Regions from separate parts of the Homo sapiens genome. Here all the other regions are linked to region 3. The links are contacts of gene promoters, found by promoter capture Hi-C in human tissues and cell types (Jung and others, 2019). All regions are on one chromosome and are shown on one strand. Each heading gives the region's core, a stretch centred on a gene start or on the middle of the fragment in contact. The rest is flanking DNA. Distances are from core to core; before and after follow the strand shown. Region 1 overlaps STAU1 (staufen double-stranded RNA binding protein 1). Region 2 overlaps ZNFX1 (zinc finger NFX1-type containing 1). Region 3 holds the start of SLC9A8 (solute carrier family 9 member A8).

What was found. Contacts are between HindIII fragments. The study calls those that stand out against the background at their distance.
Region 1: a contact is called between a fragment that was not itself captured here and the fragment with the promoter of SLC9A8 in region 3, in 1 of the 25 tissues and cell types used here (aorta).
Region 2: a fragment that was not itself captured here is called in contact with the fragment with the promoter of SLC9A8 in region 3 in 3 of the 25 tissues and cell types used here (bladder, dorsolateral prefrontal cortex and heart right ventricle).

What each region holds. Positions count from the first base shown.
Region 1 is chr20:49,152,510-49,157,169 of GRCh38, reverse strand. STAU1 (staufen double-stranded RNA binding protein 1) reads left to right here. Exons shown (of 14, transcript NM_017453.4): 4 at 3,099-3,237. Among named protein-coding and RNA genes, the nearest start is that of STAU1, 33 kb to the left of the region's middle. The HindIII fragment of the contact is 4,210 bases long and covers 1-3,935 here.
Region 2 is chr20:49,249,680-49,254,343 of GRCh38, reverse strand. It overlaps ZNFX1 (zinc finger NFX1-type containing 1), which reads left to right. Exons shown (of 14, transcript NM_021035.3): 11 at 533-678; 12 at 1,514-1,624; 13 at 2,722-2,817; 14 at 4,633-4,664. Among named protein-coding and RNA genes, the nearest start is that of ZNFX1, 26 kb to the left of the region's middle. The HindIII fragment of the contact is 3,897 bases long and covers 938-4,664 here.
Region 3 is chr20:49,811,351-49,815,947 of GRCh38, reverse strand. SLC9A8 (solute carrier family 9 member A8) reads right to left here and starts at 3,120. Exons shown (of 16, transcript NM_015266.3): 1 at 3,000-3,120; 2 at 759-940. The coding sequence starts at 3,025. RefSeq lists a silencer at 2,872-3,151 and an enhancer at 3,302-3,441. The HindIII fragment of the contact is 14,619 bases long and covers 1-4,597 here.

The sequences.
Region 1 (4,660 bases), core at 581-3,080, 660 kb after region 3:
CGTGGTGGGTCATGCCTGTAATCCCAGCACTTTGGGAGACTGAGGCAGGTGGATCACTTGAGGTCAGGAGTTCGAGACCAGCCTGGCCAACATGGTGAAACCCTGTCTCTACTAAAAGTACAGAAATTAGCCGGGCATGGTGGCAGGTGCCTGTAATCCCAGCTACTCGGGAGACTGAGGCAGGAGAATTTCTTGAACCCAGGAGGTGGAGGTTGCATTGAGCCAAGATCACACCACTGCACTCTAACCTGGGGACAGAGTGAGACTGTGTCTCTTAAAAAAAAAAAAAAATTTCAGTGCATACACACACAATCTCTTTTTTTTGTTGTTGTTTATAAAAAACAACAAAAAAGGATAAGAAGGGGATGACAGGATGAATTATCAAGATAAGACCAGGCCTCTTAAACCATGACCATAGAAAGTGTTCAAGGTTCAAGTGACATATTACAGTCAATGTCAGGTTTCATGAATTTGAGAGCTCACACTTTTCATTTCTAGGAATTTACAGTACTGCTGACACTTGGAAATCAGCAATGGGGAGCTGAGTGAACTGGTATTAAAAAGGTCAAACACACAGCTGCTGCTAAAGCTTTGGAGGGAACAAAATTTCCTAAGCCCATAGTCAGCCCTTTTGGTAGCGAAGGAAGGAATCCAGGTCTTATGCATGGGCCAAACAGGTACCTTTCAAAAGTGTGTCTAGAGGTACCATGTAGTATGTATATGAATGGTTTCTTAACTTGTTGATTTTGAAAGCACAGATTCTACACTACCAGTGACAAATGCTTATTTTTTAGGAATCCTTAACCTCATTGTAAAGCAGTGGTTTCCAATCTATGATGCCTTAACGCCTGACAATCTGGAAAGGCGGTCATAGGAAGGATGGCGGGTGACCAGATAATTTCAAAGATTTCCGAAGTTTAATGAAAATATATTTTTGATAAGAGTGTATAGATTAGCAAGAATATAAGTTTAATTTAGAGTCACATCAAGTCAGTGTGGTAATATTGATTGTAATTTTGTTGGTCAGAAGTGCTTATTGCCAGTTGTATGTCTCTTAGTTATTAAAAAGAATGAGAAAAATGTAAATATTACTTAAATACAAGCCAGCAGGTAGTATCTCCTCAGACAAGGAGCCCATTCAGGGAGCATACTAATCAAGAAGGCATGGCTGGTGAAGGGTTGGGGATCAGTGACCTGGAGGCTGTGTCATTAATGGCTGTTTTAGCAGAGACCCCCTCACATGCATGAAGTCATCCCAGGTCTTCGTATGTAGGAAGGAATCTGGGAAGTTACCAGTCACATCTTTCTTGTTACTTTTGATTTCTTTGCAGTATACTTTCTTCATGTTTATTCTCTATTGCAGACAAATTCTGTGGATCAGAGCTGCTCTTAAAATGATTCAGACTGTACTTAAAATGCAATTATATGAATTTTGTAAAAAATATAATTCTAATGCAAGGAAGAGAGAGATCTGTAATTCATGTGGCCCTCTGTGCAAACCCCAAAGATATTCTTATAGATTTGATTCATGCATTAAATTTAGTTGAACCAGTTATAGTACAGAATCAGGTCTTTTTTATTTCTCTCTATATACATCCTAAAGAGGCATTTTAAAGTGGATTTTTATGTGCATTTAGATTTTGCCATTTCTAGTGTTCTGTTTTTGATATGAAAGTGTTGTTTTTAAATATTGTGCACTGACACTAATCTTTCCAGGCTGGTTTTCTTTTTAAATGGTTTTTAAAGGTTTATGGATTGGATGAACTGAAAGAAAAAAAAATTGGAAAATGAATAGCATGTATTTTCTGAAGTTGATAATTTTGAGATAACTTGTTGTGTATGAAAATGGAACTCATTTTCGTAGCAAGTATGACCACAGGTCAAATTCATTAGAAATGTCAAGAATGGAAATACCTGAATATTTTGTGGGCCTTGTGTGACTTCTGTGAAGAGAATTGGGTTGCCACCTCCTCACTGATTTTTCACCTTTAAGTTGCACATCATGTTGTATTGTAACTCTTTGAGTGTGCTTTGTGTTTTTTGAACTCCTCTGGGGCAGGAATTGTGTTTCTTTTTTTTTTTTAAGACAGAGTTTTGCTCTTGTTTCCTCATCTGGAGTACAGTGACGCAATCTCGACTCACTGCAACCTCTGCTTCCTGGGTTCAGGCGATTCTCCTGCCTCAGCCTCCTGAGTAGATGGGATTACAGGCATGCGCCACCATGCCTGGCTAATTTTTTGTATTTTTAGTAGAAACGGGGTTTCACCGTGTTAGCCAGGCTGGTCTCGAACTCCTGACCTCAGGTGATCCACCCGCCTCGGCCTTCCAAAGTGCTGGGATTACAGGTGTGAGCCACCCTCACTGCAAGGTCCGCCTCCCAGGTTCACACCATTCTTCTGCCTCAGCCTCCTGAGTAGCTGGGACTGCAGGCACCCGCCACCATGCCTGGCTAATTTTTTGTATTTTTTAGTAGAGATAGGGTTTCACCATGTTAGCCAAGATGGTCTCGATACCCTGACCTTGTGATCCTCCTGCCTTGGCCTCCCAAAGTGCTGGGATTACAGGCGTGAGCCACCACGCCTGGCCAGGAATTGTGTTTCTTAAGCTTAGCACAGTGCTTTGCATCCAGTTAGTAATGTAATAAATGCATCGTTCAATACTGTGTACGGACATACTTCTGAGTGCAAGCCAATAATCCTGTAAATCAGTACAACCAAGGTTATATTGATTAAGTATTCTCAAACAGTAAAACAATTTGGACATTTACATGGGATTTTTTAATCGTGAAATTTGATGTGTTTTGGAACTTATTTCTGACAGCTGTACCATATAGCTTTCACTGATAATGTCTTGGGTTAAATTGTGGCTCCTCTGGTAACCCTCAGAGTAGATTTTGTGCTGTCGACTGTGTATAAATATCTAGAAATCACAGCATATTCTTGGATTTCCTTGTCTGATGCCTAGCAGTGAGCCACCCAGGTCCTTTTATGTAAAGTATCATGAATCCAATTAGCAGAAAGCATGCTATTACATTTTATTTTAGTGAGTATCATTCTCATACCAGAAAAAAACAGTTCTTTGTCGATTCTTTCTTGCAGAAAGCATAACCCCTACTGTAGAACTAAATGCACTGTGCATGAAACTTGGAAAAAAACCAATGTATAAGCCTGTTGACCCTTACTCTCGGATGCAGTCCACCTATAACTACAACATGAGAGGAGGTGCTTATCCCCCGAGGTATGTGTTTTTTTTTTTTTTTTTTTGTAAAATACAGGAGAAAACGTGTCTGATCTTTTACATAAACCAGTACCTCTAGATTGTGGAGGGAGTAATGATTTGGTTTGGGCCTGCCAAGTGTTGAAGTTGGTCTTAATTACTCTTGTGCCTTTGTGCCCCTCCCCCGCCTTTTCTTTTTTTTCTTTCTTTCTTTTTTTTTTTTTTTTTTTTTTTTTTTTTTTTGAGACAGAGTCTTGCTCTGTCACCCAGGCTGGAGTGCAGTGGTGCAGTCTCGGCTCACTGTATCCTCTGCCTCCTGGGTTCAAGTGAGGAGGCTGTCTCAGCCTCCCGAATAGCTGGGATTACAGGCACCTGCCACCACGCCTGGCTGATTTTTTTTTGTATTTTTTAGTAGAGACGGGGTTTTGCCATGTTGGCTGGGGTGGTCTTGAACTCCGGACCTCAGATGATCTGCCCACCTTGGCCTCCCAAAGTGCTGGGATTACAGGCGTGAGCCACCACACCTGGCTGCGCCTCTTTTTTTTTTTTTTAATTCATTGAGACAGGGTCTCCGTATGTTGCCCAGACTGGTCTTGAACTTCTGGGCTCAAGGAGTCCTCCTGTCTTGGCCTCCCGCAGTGCTAGGATTAAAGTGTGAGCCACCACACCCGGCCCTTTGTGCTTCTTTTTTTTTTTTTTTTTCTGAGACGGAGTCTCGCTCTGTTGCCCAGGCTGGAGTGCAGTGGCATGATCTCGGCTCACTGCAAGCTCTGCCTCCCGGGTTCATGCTATTCTCCTGCCTCAGCCTCCCAAGTAGCTGGGACTACAGGCGCCTGCCACCACACCCGGCTAATTTTTTGTATTTTTAGTAGAGACGGGGTTTCACCTTGTTAGCCAGGATAGTCTCAATCTCCTGACCTCATGATCCGCCCACCTCGGCCTCCCAAAGTGCTGGGATTACAGGCATGAGCCACCACGCCCGGCTCCTTTGTGCTTCTTTAACTACTGCTCTTGGGTAGGGCCTGAGCATATTTCTTGCTGGCAGTGTGGCTTGTGCCCTCAAGCAGCCTGGCTAAAGATAACCCTTGTAACTGCTTTGTGTAACTGAATCATATTTAAACATGATTCCCATAGCATCATGATTCCTGCAAGACAATGATTCCCAGCATTTGTAGATTACCTGATTATTGGGTACTTTTTGACTTTTGAACTTGTGCGTTTTGTAAATAGCTTTGGTGCAATAAAATATTAATTGAAACCTGAAAATGCCATGGATTAAAAATCTTCTGCTGGCAGTAATAAGACATTAGTGGAGGCCAGGTGTGGTGGCTCACGCCTGTAATCCCAGCTCTTTGGGAGGCCAAGGCAGGCGGATCATGAGGTCAGGAGTTTGAGACCAGCCTGGCCAACATGGTGAAACCCTGTCTCTACTAAAAATACTAAA
Region 2 (4,664 bases), core at 1,637-4,136, 560 kb after region 3:
TGAAATTCACTCACTTTCGCCAGGCGCAGTGGCTCACGCCTATAATCCCAACACTTTGGGAGGCCAAGGCAGGTGGATCACCTGAGGTCATAAGTTTGCAATCAGCCTGGCCAACATGGTGAAATCTCATCTCTACTAAAAATACAAAAATTAGCTGGGTGTAGTGGTGGGTGCCTGTAATCCTGGCTACTCGGGAGGCTGGGGCACAAGAATCACTTGAACCTGGGAGGTGGAGGTTGCAGTCAGCTGAGATCGCACCACTGCACTCCAGCCTGGGTGACAGAGTGAGACTGTCTCAAAGAAAAAAAAAAAAAGAAAAAAGAAATTCACTCACTTTCTCCTGCTGGGTTTGAAACTCCAACAGTGACCAACACAGTTTTAATGTTCTGGAGACCACCCAGAACACTATAAGGACCAGCTGTCGCTGATGCAGGTTCAGGGAAGATACAGAAGTGGATTCCCAGAGGCCCAGTGGCCCTGTGGGTCCTGTGCCTCAGCTCAGAGGAGCCTTTCTCTTCTTTCCTCACTTGAGGTGCTGCCAAATACCGCCAGATCCTACAGAAGGTGGAGCCGAGGATTGTCATAGTGGAAGAAGCTGCGGAAGTCCTTGAGGCCCATACCATTGCCACATTGAGCAAAGCTTGCCAGCACCTCATTTTGATTGGGGACCACCAGCAGGTAAAACGAGAGTCCCCCTAGAAGATGGGCTGGCTCTCCGTGGGGGTGAGATCATAAAGGAAGACCCTGGCCTCTGCTTCAACAGTCCTCAAGCTTATTAGTAGCTTCTTGTGATTCCTCTTGTCTTCACCTCCCACGTTCAGTCTAAGAGCAGATGCTATTAGATTTGGGGTATATTTTAGTGGCAACGTCATTTATTTCATCCATTCCCTCTGCTATTTACCTAGTCCACCATGGCCTCTTGAGTGGACTGTATTGTAATAGCATGCTCCTCAGTCTCTCTGCTTCCATTTTTGCTACCTTTTAATGCACTCTACATAAAGGAGCCAAAGTGAATTTTTTTAAAAAAAAGGTAGATAGATAATATCACTTTCCAGCTGAAAACCCTCCAGTGGTGTCCCATTGCACTTGCATAAAAATCAAGCTTCTTAAAGTGGCCCACAAAGGCTTATGTGATCAGGTTTCAGCTTATTTCTCTGACTTCATCCCATTTGCTCTTGGTGTCCCACTGTGTCCTTTCCGCTCCCCATTATGGATCTTGCTTTTCAAATGACTGAAGAACTGGCAACTTCTGCCATGCTAGTGTCTACTCAGATGTCACTGTTCAGAGGCCTAGCTAGAAAAAACCCACCATGGGGCACTCTGTCATATCACCTTTAGTTCTACTAATCCTTAACCCTTGTCATTATTAATCCTTAAACTGTGAGTATGTAGAATAGTGCCTGGCACATAGTCAACACTTGAAAAACATTTGATGGTTGGTTGGATGGATGGAAGTATGGATGGTTAAATGACTTTATCAGTAGAGAATCCTCAGCCATGTTTCTCTTCTCAGCTGCGCCCCAGTGCCAACGTGTATGATCTGGCCAAGAACTTCAACCTTGAGGTGTCCCTTTTTGAACGGCTAGTGAAAGTAAACATTCCCTTTGTCCGTCTGAATTACCAGGTGAGAAGCTGGGCCTCTGTTGTTACCAAATGCCCAGGAGAAAGCTCCTGGGAAGCTGCCAGTTGCCAGCAAAAGAGGTCTCATATAAATAAAAATAATTTAATACTGAAATGACTCTGTCAACCTTACATTTTCTGTTTTAAAACACCACAAGATCACCGTGTTGAGTTTTTGTTGGACAAAGGAGCTGTTTATGTTATGCTTTCTCCTTATTTTTTTCAAATGATAATCTCTATCTCTCTAGATTTTCTTTCCTTTTTTTTTTTAAGAAAAATAGAGGCCAGGTGCGGTGGCTCACACCTGCAATCCCAGCACTTTGGGAGGCCAAGGTGGGCAGATCACCTGAGGTCAGGAGTTCGAGACCAGCCTGGCCAACATGGTGAAAGCCTGTCTCTACTAAAAATGCAAAAATTAGCCGGGCATGGTGGTGGGCACCTGTAATCCCAGCTACTCAGGAGGCTGAGGCAGGAGAATTGCTTGAACCTGGGAGGCGGTGGTTGCAGTGAGCCGAGATCATGCCACTGTACTCCAGCCTGGCAATAGAGCTAGATTCTGTCTCAGAAAAAAAAAAAAGAAAAGAAAAATAGAGGCCAGGTGTGGTGGCTCACACCTTAATCCTAGCACTTTGGGAGGCCAAGGCGGGCGGATCCCTTGAGTTCAGGAGCTCGTGACCAGCCTCGCCAACATGGCGAAACACTGTCTCTGCTAAAAATACAAAAAATTAGCCAGGCGTGGTGCCTCATGCCTGTAGTCCCAGCTACTTTTGGAAGGCTGAGGCAGGAGAATCACTAGAACCTGGGAGGCAGAGGTTGCAATGAGCTGAGATTGCGCCACTGCACCCCAGCCTTGGTGACACGTCTCAAAAAAAAAAAAAAAAGAAAGAAAAATAGAGATGAGGGCTCACTATGTTGCCAGGCTGGTCTTGAAATCCTGACCTGAAGTGATCCTCCTGCCTTGGCTTCCCAAAGTGATGGGATTACAGATACAAGCCATCACAACTGGCCCTCCCTAAATTTTCTAACAGCAACCTTATCTTTAAAGAAATTGTCCGTGTGTGCTCTGCCCATGTTTCTAATGACATGCATGTGTTTTTTCAGCACCGTATGTGCCCTGAAATTGCCCGCCTTTTGACCCCCCACATTTACCAGGATCTGGAGAATCATCCATCTGTTCTTAAGTATGAGAAGATTAAGGTGAGTCTGTCTTACCCGATCTTTCTTGGATGGTGTCAGCAACCTAAAAAGGCTATAATTTCCTCAAGATAAAAAAGCTTTTCAGCGGCCAGGCGCGGTGGCTCACACCTGTAATCCCAGCACTTTGGGAAGCTGAGGTGGGCAGATCACTTGAGGTCAGAGTTCGAGACCAGCCTAACTAACATGGTGAAACCCTGTCTCTACTAAAATACAAAAACTAGCTGAGCATGGTGGCAAGCACCTGTAATCCCAGCTACTCAGAAGGCTGAGGTGGGAGAATTGCTTGAACCCAGGAGGTGGAGGTTGCAGTGAGCTGAGATCGTGCCATGCTACTGCACTCCAGGCTGGGCAGCGGAGAGAGACTCCCTGTCAAAAAAAAAAAGAAAGCCTTCAGAAGGGAGTAGAGCCAGCTTTTTAAAAGCTGGTTACTGGGAGAAAATTGAAATACAGACCAGGGTTTTTTAATCCCAATTCTGCCTGTTAGCCATGTAACCTTAAGCAAGTTATATAAGAATTCTGGCCAGGCGCGGTGGCTTACGCCTGTAATCCCAGAGCTTTGTGAGGCCGAGGCGGGCGAATCACAAGGTCAAGGGATCAAGACCATCCTGGCCAACATGGTGAAATCCCATCTCTACTAAAAATACAAAAATTAGCTGGGTGCGGTGGCATGTGCCTGGCTGGGTGTGGTGGCTCATGCCTATAATCTCAGCACTTTCGGAGGCCAAGATGGGTGGATCACCTGAGGTCAGGAGTTGGAGACTAGCCTGGCCAACATGGTGAAACCCCGTCTCTACTAAAAATACAAAAATTAACTGGGCATGGTGGTGGGCGCCTGTAATCCCAGCTACTTGGGAGGCTGAGGCGAGAGGATCGCTTGAACCTGGGAAGTGGAGGTTGTGGTGAGCCAACAAGACCGTGCCACTGTACTTCAGCCTACGCAACAAGAGTGAACTCTGTCTCAAAAAAAAAAAATTGTCAGCTGAGGCCAAGAGTTCAAAACCAGGCTGGGGCACATAGCAAGACTGTCTCTTTTTTTAAAATAAATAAATAAATTCTGAGTATCAGGTTCTTCTGGACAATAAGAATAATGGCTCCTGCCATATCCCATTACTGTATGGAAGGAGGTAATGTATATAAAGCAGTCAGCACAGTGGAGTGCTCAGTAAGTTAGCTGCTCTGTCATTATCATCATCCTCCTCACAGCACTGCTTGTTCTTTCAGCTATAATGGTTGGATTGTGGATGGCTGTTTTATTTTCTATTTTTTTTGAGATGGAGTCTCACTCTGTCTGTCACCCAGGCTGGAGTGCAGTGGCATGATCTCGGCTCACTGCAATCTCTGCATCCTGGGTTCAAACTATTCTCCCATCTCAGCCTCCTGAATAGCTGGGATTATAGGCGCCCACTACCACGCCCAGCTAATTTTTGTATTTTTAGTAGAGACGGGGTTTCACCATGTGGGCCAGGCTGGTCTCAAACTCCTGACCTCAGGTGATCCACCCACCTCGGCCTCTCAAAGTGCTGGGATTACAGACGTGAGCCACTGTACCCAGCCAGCTTTTTTAAATATTAACATCAAACAAGTATCTTGAAAACTGAAAGAGACATAATCTTTTATTTTCATAACTTGCTGTGGCCCCAAAATGAAGCACACAATGACTAACTAAAGAACTAAAGATAGTGATGTTGAGTGGACAAAAAGCTTTCCAAGGTCTCTCTCTGGAGCAGAGTAAGTGGCCAGTGCATGTCAAGAGAGGAAGAAAAAAACAAGTGCCATGAGTGAACCTTTTAACATGTCACTTCTTTTCCCTGTCAGGGGGTGTCTTCCAACCTTTTCTTTGTAGAACA
Region 3 (4,597 bases), core at 1,871-4,370:
ATTCACATGGAAGTCAAATAAATATGAACACAAAATGCTGCTCTGATTGAAGCCAGGAGCAGGGGGTCAGATATTCTCCCATCTGACTCCTCCCACCTCCTGCCACCCCACCCCCTGCTCCTTCATCCCCTGCACAGGTGCATACTCCTTTGAGTAGAACTTGAAATCCATTAAACTAGATGTTCAAGATTCTTTTTTTTTTTTCCAGACAGTCTTACTCTGTCATCCAGGCTGGAGTGCAGCGGCGTGATCTCGGCTCACTGCAACCTCTGCCTCTCAGGTTCAAGTGATTCTCGTGCCTCAGCCTCCTGAGTAGCTGTGATTACAGGCATACACCACTACGCCTAGCTAATTTTTGTATTTTTAGTGAAGACAGAGTTTCACCATGTTGGCCAGGCTGGTCTTGAACTCCTAACCTCAAGTGATCCACCCAAGTCTCCCAAAGTGCTGAGATGTCAGGCTTGAGCCACCGCGCCAGGCCTCAAGATTCTTTCTAGGCCAAAATTTTTTTAATCCTTCTTTCAAAGGCCAAGATATTACATCAACAGCTCTTCAGAACTTGCTAAGCACCATGATTTTATAAAGAAGAGAGTTTCCTGTTAATGATGTTATAAACTGATCATGTTCCCTCAGTGTTTGATATGAAAACCAAATGGGAGGAAGACTTGACAGTCAAGAGGAGTGACAGGGTTAAACACACAGACCGAGCACACAGACACGGGATGGCAGATGATGGGGATGACAGTGTCCATATTCACCTAGGACAAGGAGGCTGAAGAAAATGGTCATGCCGCTGGACTGCTCCTCTTGCTGGGCCTGCTCCCCTGTCTGCACGGGGAGGATGGGCTTGCCAGGGGTCGGGAGCACCAGTTTCGTCGTGACAACCAGGGTGGTGTGGAGGGTGACATTGAAACCCTCATGAGTTGTATTGGGGAACCTCCTGGAGGACATAGAAAGCATAATTAGATAATGGAAAAGGGTCCCAAAACATCAATTCACACACCTCACACCAGAAAGAGAAGCTGTCCAAGAACTTTATGGGATTCAGAAGTCTTTAACAGGCAGGCCTTCGAGAGAAACTTACTAAGAAAATCCCTGCCTGCACAGCACAAGGGTACCAGTGGCCTCTGGTGCTTTTGAATACAGCCACTTAGAGGACAAGAACGGTAGGGAATCAGAGCTAGTATAGAAATGAAATGCTGCCTGCTCTTTGGCAAATACTGGGGGATTTAAAGGGAGGCAAACTGGAGTCTCATCACTTTCCAAGGTCCAACACTGTTTACTTAGCACCTTTGTTTCTCCAATTTACATTATTTTCCTGGCATTATTTCTGCAAGTTGAAGAAGCCACCTCAATTTGCCCAGTTGTTGATCTGGGCATGCCCTACCCTACTTTACAAAATCCCTCTCAGATTTCAAACGGCTCAAATGTCACCTCCTATTACCCCATCTTACCACACCCGAATTTACCCACTCCACTGCGTATGTTCCCACAGCTCTTTCACACTGTGCTGGGATTGTGAACTAGTACAATATTGCTATAATAACTGTTACTGTGACTACAAAAGTTATTATTTTCTGAGCACTGCTTTATTCCAGGAACTAGGTAACACACTACCTCTCATTTAATAGGTATAACATGTCTGATTGGGTATGATTACTTTCCGTTTTTTACTCATGCATAACTAAGGCTCAGGGAGGTTGCAAAACTTCACCAACATCTCAGTTAGTGGCAGAATCAAGCTGAAAACCCAAACTTGAAATCGCTGGGCTATATTGCCTCTTTTATTTTGTGCTGCTGAGGCTGTTTAGTGTCTGGGATGGAGCAGCTGCTCAATAAATAACTGATTACATGAAATGACCCCCACATGGCCAAGAAATATATTTGAAAAGTTATCAGGTGAAGGACTCCAGTATCAATGAAGGGGTTCCTTATTCATCTTCACATACTCATTCCACAAACAGTGATAGGGCATCTACAATCTGCAACAGACTCTGCCCTGCAGGTATGGAGATGACTTTTGGACTTGCCCAAAAGTACCTGGAGGACACAGCCCGTCCTTCCCCATCTCCCCTTGTCCAGCTAACCCCCTTCCTCTCTACACACCAGCCATGCTGCCTGTCACTCAAAAGCACTAAACTCTTTCTTGAGCCAGGCCTTTTGAACCTGATGTTATTTCTCCTATCCCTCATTCTGGTCATTCAAGTTTCTGCTGAATGTCACTTTTTCCTGAGTGGACTCCCCAACCTTAACTCTATTTTGCTTCCTTCAGAACACTTAACCCATTCATGCCAGAGGTTGCAATTTTTAGAACTGCAGACGTGAGAAAAATCAGACCTTGGCGATGACCTTGAGCAGTAGGATATAAATAACTCCCACATGCTTAGCGTTCCAATAATGGAACACTAGGCACAAATAACGTTAATTAATCACGATCTGAAACCACCTTGACTAATTATGGTCTTCTTTTCCCACTAGAATGGAAGCTCCCAGAGAGCGGCTCCTGGTCGGCCTCCTTTCCTACCACCTGCCCAGGGCCTGGAATTGAGTAGATGGCTAACAGTTAATGACTAAATGAAACTTAGTGAAGGAGAAAGACATGAAAACTGATCGTTATACAGGAGGCGACTGGCTACGTAGGAGGTGGGTGTGGAGAACCCGGACGACTTCCTGGAGGAGGCGGAAGAGGGCTCAGTAACCATGAGATTACCGAAAACTGGGAAAGTAAATATGGTTTGTATTTTCCGCAAGACAGCTCTCCGGGCCTGCGCTGGGCAGTAGATTCCCAGCTCGAGGGACCGATCTCCAGGGGAAAGCAAGGCCCACCTGGGCCCAGGCCCGCCCATCCCGCCCTCCTCGTAGGCACCGGCTTGGTCAGTCCTGGCCAACCAGCAAAAGAAGCTCCGCCTTCCGGGGCCGGAGGGCGGCCTGAGGCGCTCGCTGTCACCCGCCGGGGCCCAGCCCCGCCGCCTCCGCCGCCCGGGAAAAAGCCCACTCACTCCTCTTCCGCCATCTTCTCCCCCATCCTGCGGAGCTTCCAGGACCACCGAGTTCGGAGCCGCGGGGCTAGCAGGACCCGCTTTTGCTTCCGGCTTCCGCTGGAGGCGCGGGCGGGCGAGCGGGAGGCGGGGCCTCGGCCGCGCGAGGGCGGCCCTCTGTCCCTCCGTCTCAGTGGCCCGAGGGTGGGAGAAAGCGCGTGGGAGGATTGCTTCTTAGTCTCTCCCGGGGCTTTCGGGACGCTTGTCCGGCCTGGGCCACATGACCACCTGGGACCGAGAGATTCCGGCTTTTCCCCATCACAGGGCGGGGACGTTTTGGGGAAACTCCTCTGAGGTCACTGTGACTCACCCTGAGGGCAAGCAAGCACCCTCCACCCAGTGCCCTCGACTTCGCTGTGCTAAAAGAGTTTGAAAAAGGATGCCCAGCCTGCAGCCTAAGCGGAGAGACCCCAGGGGGACACTTCCCCACCCGAGCCTTAGTTTCCTTCGGCTGTGGAGAGGAATAACCGCCTGGACTTGGCAGGACTGTGCAGCATTCCATCTGTAAACATGTGTTGAGTTCAGACTATATGCCTAGCGTTAAAAAGGATGCTGATGATCTAGGGGTGGACCATTCATTAAGGGGTTCATTGATTCACCACATGCTTAGTAGATGCTTCTATGTGCCTAGCAGTGACCGGTGGGGTGGGGATGCAGGGAGGAACAAGGTGAGGTGAGAGGGGTAGGTGAGACCCCCATCGGGAGGACTGGGGCTGAGGACTTTGAACTTTATTGGCCGCTTCTGTTGCTACCTCCCTTCCTGATCCAAGGCACTCTATCTCATCTGGATAATTGCAACGGCTCCATTCAGGGTCTCTGACTCACCCCTGTTCCTTACGGACTTCCACACAGCAGCTTAACTCATCACTCCTCTGCTTAGACCCTCCAATGGCTTCCAATCTCCAGAGAAAAAAAAAACGTGGGGAATGTACAGGACTCAATCCTGCCCCCTTTTCCCCTCTGAAGTGTGTGGGAGGGGGGCATGGGGCTCTATATCTCCCCTCCCACACACTTTGACTTTCCACTATTGTCCCAGACTCACCAGGAATACTTCCACCGTTGCACTTACTGAGCCTTTATCTAGAATGCTCTTCTTCTGGGTAGCTCTTTGGCTCCCACCTCTCCTACGTTTGGCCTTTTATTTAACCCTTATCTTGTGTGTTAGACCTCCTTGACCACCCTACTTAAAATCCAAGGCCCCCCGCCTTCCCTAAACTATTTTTCCACATGACACCTAACCTACCATATGTTTTACTCATACACTTGTTTGTTAACCATCTCCCTCCATGAGAACGGAAGCTTCATGAATGCAGAAATTTTTGTCTGTTTTGTTCTCCATTTTATCTGCAATGCCTACAACAGTACCTGGCACATAGTAGACACTCAATAATAAATAATCATTGAGTAAATAAATCAGTTAATTCTAGCACACCTAGAAGGGTTTTGAACTGAGAAGTAACCTAAGCTTTGCTGCCTGTTGGGAGTTGACTGGGGATTGGCGAGAGAGAGAGGATGGAAGCCCCAAAGCCAGCAAGGAGGCTTTTGCAATAATCTAGGTG